Linked DNA regions of Homo sapiens: regions 1 and 3 are each linked to region 2. The links are contacts of gene promoters, found by promoter capture Hi-C in blood cells and fetal thymus (Javierre and others, 2016). All regions are on one chromosome and are shown on one strand. Each heading gives the region's core, a stretch centred on a gene start or on the middle of the fragment in contact. The rest is flanking DNA. Distances are from core to core; before and after follow the strand shown. Region 1 overlaps NDUFA8 (NADH:ubiquinone oxidoreductase subunit A8). Region 2 holds the start of OR5C1 (olfactory receptor family 5 subfamily C member 1). Region 3 has its middle 7.1 kb from the start of MIR4478.

Region 1 (2,700 bases), core at 54-2,553, 640 kb before region 2:
ATTTAATCATTGAACAAACACTCAGGAAAGCCTACTTTATGTCATTCCATGTGGTAGAAACTAGGGATACAGAAGGGAACAAGATACTGTCCTCAAGGGGATCACAGTCTAGTGAGGGAGAAAGCCAGGAATAACAACCAAGATTTCCAAATCACCCTGATGGCTAATGGCAATGATGGAGACAGGAACTGCCTCTATAGGAGCAAGGACTGTGCACATCTAACCCATCCTGAAGGCTGGGGGTCTGGAATATTTTTAAGGAGGTAAGACTTAGCTTAAAGTCTGAGCAGGAGCCAGTCAGAAAGGCAAGGGAGGAAAAGACATTCCAAGGAAAGACTACATATGAAGATAGGCAGGCATGTCTTCAGAATGGCTGAATCAAAGGCTGCATGAAGAATGGAGGGAGATGAAGCATCTCACCAAGAACTTATTGCTAGAAATGATGCTGAGCACATGATTCCATTCCATTTTCACTCTTAGGAGGTCATTCTGCAGGGGCTCACTGAGGCCACCTAGCTAATAGTGGAAGAAATTGTACACAAAGCCAGATATGCCTACTCCAAAGCTTGTGCTTCTTAATACCACACTACAGTGGTGGACAGGCCAGATGATAAAGGGTATTAAATGATATGCAAAGGTGTTTGCGTTTTAACCTGACGGTTAACAGGTGCCACTGAAGCACGGCAGTAACTAAATCCCATCTCTGTAGGCTGGGAAGTGTGAAAGCTAAAGTGGAGAGAGGCAAGACCCAAATTGGGGAGCTGAGCCAATAAGCCAGGAGAGTGGTGAAGTACTAAACTGCAACAGGGAGAGAGATAATTTACACTCACAGTATCCCCTGATGGTCACAAAAATCTCAACTGGAAAGCCAGCAGAAACTGCTGTCATTTTAAAGATAAAGAAATAGGCCCAGAGAAGTAAGAAGACATAAGGCCACAGCTGTCAGCAGTCTTCTGATTATTCTTCTACTGGGCTGAACTCTTAAGTCACCTCATGTAAAATGACCAGATTCATCTTCCTAGATGTATAAATTCAGAAACCTTTTATTGGGAACAGAGCTTTTGTGTATACAATCACCCAATTATTATTATAACCACCTTATGAGGCATTATTATCTCTAGTGCACAGATGAAGACCAGGGAGGTTGGCATGCCTAAGATAAGATACACACTAATGTCAGAGCTAAAGCTGGAACCTAAGTCTTCAAGTCTACTAGTTTCGTTTGTTTGCTTTTGAAAGTTATCCCACCGCCCTGTCATAAGTACAGATGGTTCCTAATGATCCACTAGTGGTTCCTTGGTATTTGCAGCTCCTTTAAGGAATTAAAGACATTTATGAAATTGGCTGGGCACAGTGGCTCATGCCTGTAATCCCCGCACTCTGGGAGGCTGAGGCAGGTGGATCACTTGAGGTCAGAGTTCAAGACCAGCCCAGGCAACATGGTGAAACCCCTTCTCTACTAAAAATACAAAATTTAGCTGGCCATGGTGGCGGGTGCCTGTAATCCCAGCTACTCAAGAGGCTGAGGCAGAATTGCTTGAACCCGGAAGGCACTGGTTGCAGTGAGCAGAGATCGTGGCACTGTACTCCAGCCTGGGTGACAGAGTGAGACTCCACTTCAAAAAGAAAAACAAAAAAAATGTTGCCCAGGCTAGTCCTGAACTCGTGAGCTCAAGCGATCCTCCTGCCTCAGCCTCCCAAAGTGCTAGAATTGCAGGTGTGAGCCATGGCACCTGATCGAGAAATACACTTTTGAAAAGAGTTAAGAGAATTTTTTTTTTATCTCACAGAGTTTTAAAAAATGTTAATACAAAGATTCAAGAATAAATATGCTTTCTTACTAGCATGACTTGTTATTTCTTCTTTCATAAGTCAGAAATGAGAAAAGGTAGTTTTATTTGTTACATGTATAAGTTCTACCACTTTCCAATCTAGAATTATCAACTATTTAAAATAATATGTTCAGTACATCAAAAAGTATCTGAAAATAATCAAGCCAGATATAAAAGACAAAAAAATTGCTAAGTTATTACTCATGACACCAAGCTTATAATCCAACCATTCACAGATGCTATACACAAAGAGAAGGGAACTAGACCGGGTATGGTGACCTGTAATCCCATCACACTGGGAGGCTAAGGTGGGAGGACTGCTTGAGCTCAGGATCTCAAGACCAGACTGGGTAATATAGCAAAATCCTGTCTCTACTAAAATACAAAAATTAGTTGGGCATGGTGGCCTGTGCCTGTAGTCCCAGCTACTTGGGAGGCTGAGGTGGGAGAATCACCTGTGCCCAGGAAGTCAAGGCTGCAGTGAGCTGTGATCGCACCACTGCATTCCAGCCTAGGAGAGAGAGTAAGACCTGAGTTTTTTCCTCCATGCCTTGCTACCTGTGCTGCTCCACAGGGAACAGAGGGAGCTGAGGCTGAAGAAGCAGGGATGGGTCAGATCATAAAGGGCCTGCATGCCATGTTATGGAGAAGATGCTTTATCTCACCAGCAATGGAGAGTCCCCGTACAGTTTTTAAAAACACAGTGACATAAGATTTGTTTTCCACACAGATCACTCTTCTTGTGGAGGTGTAATTTAATCCTCAATTCTTCAATTTCATCTAAAGCCCACATTGATCCACCCTCCTCTCCCAGAAATTCATGTACCCCAGGTTAAGAACTCCTGTCCAAGAATAAGATAACAGCAGC
Region 2 (2,700 bases), core at 101-2,600:
CTCAGAGAGGCCAAGAATTCAGCTCAGGAATATATTCACATTTTCTGTTCTTTCTACTCCCCACTGTTTTCGCAAGATACCAGGCTACTCCTTTCTCCGATCTTACTCCAAAGGAAAGATGTCCCTACTAGCAAACCTCAAAAGCCATGGCCAGGTGCCCGTTGGATCTGAAGATTATTTCTGCTCATTCCACTGTCTCTTTTCTTACCTGGAAAACTGGAGAGGAGAATGCATATAGAGTCACAAAGTTTTCAATCATTGGCTGGACACTAAATATCATCCCATTCATTCATTTAACAAATCTTTTTTGAGCACCAGCTATGTGCTAGGCAATGCTCTCAGTGCTGTAGACACAAAAGTGAATAAGAGGGACAAGACCCCTGTGGGTGTGGTGGAGCATGCCTATAATCCCAGCTGCTTGGGAGGCTGAGGTGGGAGGAGGATCACTTAAGCCCAAGAATTTTAGTTCAGCCTGGGCAACATAGTGAGACCTTGTGTCTCTTTAAAAAAAAAAAAAAAAAGGCTGGGCGTGGTGGCTCACACCTGTAATCCCAACACTTTGGGAAGCTGGGGCAGGCAGACTTGAGATCAGGAGTTGAAGACCAGCCTGACCACCAACATGGTGAAACCCTACCTCTACTTAAAAAATACAAAAATTAGCCGGGCATGGTGGCGGGCACCTGTAGTCCCAGCTACTCGGGAGGCTGAGGTAGGAGAGTCACTTGAACCCAGGAGGCGGAGGTTGCAGTGACCCAAGATTGCACCACTGCACGCCAGCCTGGGCAACAAAACAAGACTCCATCTCAAAAAAAAGAAAAGAAAAGAAAAGAAAAAAGAAAAAAAGACGGGCCGGGTACAGTGGCTCATGCCTGTAATCCCAGCACTTCAGGAGGCTGAGGTGGGCGGATCACCTGAAGTTGGGAGTTCGAGACCAGCCTGACCAACATGGAGAAACTCCATCTCTACTAAAAATATAAAATTAGCCAGGCACGGTGGCACATGCCTATAATCCCAGCTACTTGGGAGGCTGAGGCAGGAGAATCGCTTGAACCCAGAAGGCGGAGGTTGTGGTGAGCTGAGATCACACCTTTGCACGCCAGCCTGGGTAACAAGAGCAAAACTCCATCTCAAAAACAAAAAAAGGCTTCTGCAATGACTTCTAAGAGTTAGAAACAGGTTTTGAGAGGTTACGTGGCTTGCTCAAGGTCACAGCAATTTTGTTGCACAGGTGAGCTGAAACCCAAGCCTACCTAACTCCCAGTACAGGATGCTTTCTTCTCCCTGGCCATGGCCTTGCCATTGCTCTTATCTCCCTCCTGCTTTGCCTCTTCTCAGTCTCTGTCCAGTAGGATGAACTCAGAGAACCTCACCCGGGCCGCGGTTGCCCCTGCTGAATTCGTCCTCCTGGGCATCACAAATCGCTGGGACCTGCGTGTGGCCCTCTTCCTGACCTGCCTGCCTGTCTACCTGGTGAGCCTGCTGGGAAACATGGGCATGGCGCTGCTGATCCGCATGGATGCCCGGCTCCACACACCTATGTACTTCTTCCTGGCCAACCTCTCCCTGCTGGATGCCTGCTATTCCTCCGCCATCGGCCCCAAGATGCTAGTGGACCTGCTGCTGCCCCGAGCCACCATCCCTTACACAGCCTGTGCCCTCCAGATGTTTGTCTTTGCAGGTCTGGCTGATACTGAGTGTTGCTTGCTGGCAGCCATGGCCTATGACCGCTACGTGGCCATCAGAAACCCACTTCTCTATACAACAGCTATGTCGCAGCGTCTATGCCTGGCCTTGCTGGGAGCATCAGGCCTGGGTGGGGCAGTGAGTGCCTTTGTTCACACAACCCTCACCTTCCGCCTGAGCTTCTGCCGCTCCCGGAAGATCAATAGCTTCTTCTGCGATATCCCTCCACTGCTGGCCATCTCGTGCAGTGACACCAGTCTCAATGAACTCCTTCTCTTCGCCATCTGTGGCTTCATCCAGACAGCCACGGTGTTAGCTATCACGGTGTCTTATGGCTTCATCGCTGGGGCTGTGATCCACATGCGCTCGGTCGAGGGCAGTCGGCGAGCAGCCTCCACCGGTGGTTCCCACCTCACAGCCGTGGCCATGATGTACGGGACACTCATTTTCATGTACCTGCGCCCCAGCTCCAGCTATGCCCTGGACACTGACAAGATGGCCTCTGTGTTCTATACCCTGGTCATCCCGTCTCTCAACCCACTCATCTACAGCCTCCGCAATAAGGAGGTCAAGGAGGCCCTCAGGCAGACCTGGAGCCGATTCCACTGTCCAGGGCAGGGGTCCCAGTGATTGGTCCAGGGAGGCTGGGTAGGTCTGACTATGAGGGGATGAGGAAGGTCGGGGCCTCTTTCTGGCCCCGTCACTGTCGGTAAAGATGGGATGTTCCTCTGGCTTGGATGTCTCATGTCATTGTTTAAGGGACAGTAAAGAGGGAAATGAAAGCTTATAGCAGGGAGAAAAAGATTTGGGGTTCATCTAGGGCTAGACCTAGAGCCAGACGCTAGACCAGGCTAATGTTTCTGTTGCACTGCCTCAGGTTCTTCAACATTCAAAACATTCTTCAATATTCAGCTGGGTGCAGTGGCTCATGCCTGTAACCCCAGCACTTTGGGAGGCCAAGGCAGGAGTTCAAGACCAGCCTGGGCAACACAGGGAGACCCCCCCACCATCTCTACA
Region 3 (2,775 bases), core at 181-2,680, 660 kb before region 2:
AACAAGGACAGGGAGACTATACCCCCATATCACAGTGGAGGTGTCCGTTTGATCAGCCTTGAGCTGGACACCAGAGCTTCCTGGTGACTCACCGGCAGCCCCCAGGCTGGTCAGGCCCGGGAGAAGGACGCCAGTGTACCCTGCCTGCTGCTGTACCTGCAGGACATGCCTGGACACCAGCGTGCTCTGGGAGGGAGCTGTCCTGTTGCCTGCGGTGGTGGGGACAGGGGAAGGCTGCTCTGAGCTGTACTTGGGATGCGTCTGGGAAGACAGGACGGGCGTGCCAGCAAGAGAACAGCATGTGCAGGGCAGGGAGGTGTGAGGGCGCAGCCTGGGCAGCCAAGGGGCCTGAGCCGCAGGATAAGTGGATCTGGTGGCATGCGGGAGGCGGCAGAGGCAGCGGGCAGGGAGGGGCCTCTCTCCCCAGCAGCTTGGTTGCGGGGACGAGCCAAGCCACCCCATGCTCACAGCCAAGGCAGGGGTCTTGAGACCCGCCTCATACCTCTGTGACCTCCAAGGAGCAGACGGTCCCCGTTACTGCCCCTGCTGTACCCAGGGACCCAGGAACGCAGGGAATGTGAAGCTGGAGGGGGAGGGACAGCGACTGACATTCTAGACCGGTGATGCACCCAGATAGAGGCCTAGAGCGAGGAGAGGAAGTGCGGGGCACAGAATAAGTAGAGAGAGAACAGAGGGAGAAAGAGACACCGGGAGGGGAAGGGAGACAGAGACGGGGAGTCGGAGGAGGGAGCGGAGAGAACCGAGGGAAGGGGTTGCCAGGAGGAGGGGTAGGGAGAACTTTCTTGGCCTCCCTGCTCGCGCCCTCCCGGGCAATCAGGCCGGCAGGAGGCAGGTGGTCCGGGGCAGACAATGGCGCGGAGGAGTGCGGAACCTGGGACTAAATTTGGCGTTGCCTTTGCAGGGCGCGGGGCGCCCGTTCATCTCGATGCAAAGGAGAGACGAAATGAATATGCAGCGCGGGCTGTAATTGGGCCGCCGCGGCCGCCGCCGCCGCCGCCGCACTATAATTTTCCAAACAGGATCTTGCAATCAGGGCCTTATTCATTAGCGCATAAACAATTTTGTTTCTCGGCACTCGAGCCTGTCAATCACGCGGAGAGGGAACATCTTGGCCGGAGGCGCGGGCCACCGTGCGCGCTCCCACGCGCGCCCCCTCGAGCGCCGCCAGGTGGCTTTGTGTCCGGGAGGCCCTTGGGTGCTGGGGTGGAGGGGGCCCGGGGCACGCTTCGGGGTCCACACCCCAGCCCGGCAGATGGGGGTGGGCGGCCTGAGAGAACACAGGTTTGGGGGCCCACCGCCCCGGCTTGCAATTCTGCTTCTGACCTCACCAGCTCTGCCCTTGGGCAACCCCCCTTCTCCTCCCCAGCCTCAGTTTGCCCTCTGTAAGATGTGCTCAGCGCACTCACCCCGCAGAACTAGAGGGGGCATCGGGTGGAATAATGGATGCTTTGGGTGCTGAGGCTGGGGGGTGGGGTGCTGAGGAGGGGGCCTTCTAGCTCCTTTTATTAAAGGAGGGGATCAGAGGCCCACAGAGAGCTTCTCATCCCATCACCACCCCCACCCCTCTAGGACGGCTCCTGCGACTCTGTCTAGGGAGGCCTCAGAGTGGTTCTCTAAGAGCTGGGCTGGGCACAGCCCTGGGCTCACCCACACGCTGGGGTGGGCACGCATGCGTGATCTCCCGTGCTGGCTCCCAGGAGGGCTGTGCACGCGGGGGCACCTATAACTCTACAAGCCCATGTGTGACTGTGCCACAGGCTTTGTGCCTATGTGTGTGTGTGGGGGCGGGGGCGCTGTGACTGTGTGTTCAGCTACTTGGCTGCTGGTGAGATCATGGAGCTGAGTGTGGCTGCCTAGCAGTAGCCAGGTGACAAGGACTGAAGGGGGCTGGTGAACAGAACTGTGGGGTCTTTGGGGCCCAGGTGACCTGGCAAGAACTGCAGAGAGGGCAGGAAGCCCTGAAGGGCTGTGTCTTTCAGGACAGATGACATCTCTGTCTTCTCCGCCTCCTCCCTGGCGACCCCTCCATCAGCCCCATGTCCCCAGCACAGTCATCCAGGGTGCCCAGGCTGGGGAGATAAGCAGCCTGGTTTTGCCCTACTGCCAGGCCTTGCAGTGGGGAGGGTTCACCTTCCCCACCTCTCTGACCCCACCCCCAGCCCCCTCAGTGCCTCCCTGACAGCACCAAGACTCAGCCCCATGCTCCCTCCATCAGGGAAGCCTAAAGGCCTCTGGAATTTCAGGGCCAAATGTTCTAATCAGCTCAGATTTACAGAGATCACAGCAGGTCAGAGCTGGATAGACCCATTGCATGGATGAAGAAACAGAGGCCTAGGACTGGAAACAGGAACGATACAGGCCTGGGACCCCCCCACCCCCAGCAAGTGGGGAGCAGAGCTAGGATCTGAACTCCTGTCTCTGGCCCCAAAGCAGGGGGCAAGGACCTGACTTCCCGAAGACACACACCGCCGACAAGCGTAAGCACCAGCAGACCACGGAGGCCTCCCGCAACCCGCCATGCCCCTCTCCTGCCCCCACCCCGGCATCCTCCTCCTCTGCTGTGCCCAACCCCTGCCCCCTCCACAGTCCCCACTCCACACAGAGACAAAGAATTTGAGGATGTGCTGGCAGCCAACTGACAGGCCATCAGTCTCTACCCAGACACCCTCTTCACAGTTCTAGCCCCAGCCCGGATGCCACCCCACCCGCTAGTCACCCCCAGCACCGGGCCAGGAAGGGAGGCGGCCCGGGAAG

The links. Contacts are between HindIII fragments. The CHiCAGO score rates a contact against its expected background, and 5 or more counts as called.
Region 1: a contact is called between a fragment that was not itself captured here and the fragment with the promoter of OR5C1 in region 2, in 1 of 17 cell types (M0 macrophages). The highest score is 7.1, in M0 macrophages.
Region 3: a contact is called between a fragment that was not itself captured here and the fragment with the promoter of OR5C1 in region 2, in 4 of 17 cell types (activated CD4 T cells, naive B cells, M0 macrophages and 1 more). The highest score is 6.5, in activated CD4 T cells.

The regions. Positions count from the first base shown.
Region 1 is chr9:122,144,526-122,147,225 of GRCh38, forward strand. All of the region lies in intron 3 of NDUFA8 (NADH:ubiquinone oxidoreductase subunit A8), which reads right to left. Among named protein-coding and RNA genes, the nearest start is that of NDUFA8, 14 kb to the right of the region's middle. The HindIII fragment of the contact is 1,481 bases long and covers 564-2,044 here.
Region 2 is chr9:122,787,583-122,790,282 of GRCh38, forward strand. It overlaps OR5C1 (olfactory receptor family 5 subfamily C member 1), which reads left to right and starts at 1,351. Exons shown (of 1, transcript NM_001001923.1): 1 at 1,351-2,313. The coding sequence starts at 1,351. The coding sequence ends at 2,313. The HindIII fragment of the contact is 2,532 bases long and covers 1-2,464 here.
Region 3 is chr9:122,125,854-122,128,628 of GRCh38, forward strand. No RefSeq gene overlaps it. Among named protein-coding and RNA genes, the nearest start is that of MIR4478, 7.1 kb to the left of the region's middle. RefSeq lists enhancers at 1-56, 57-822, 823-1,589, 1,590-2,355. The HindIII fragment of the contact is 5,201 bases long and covers 1-2,775 here.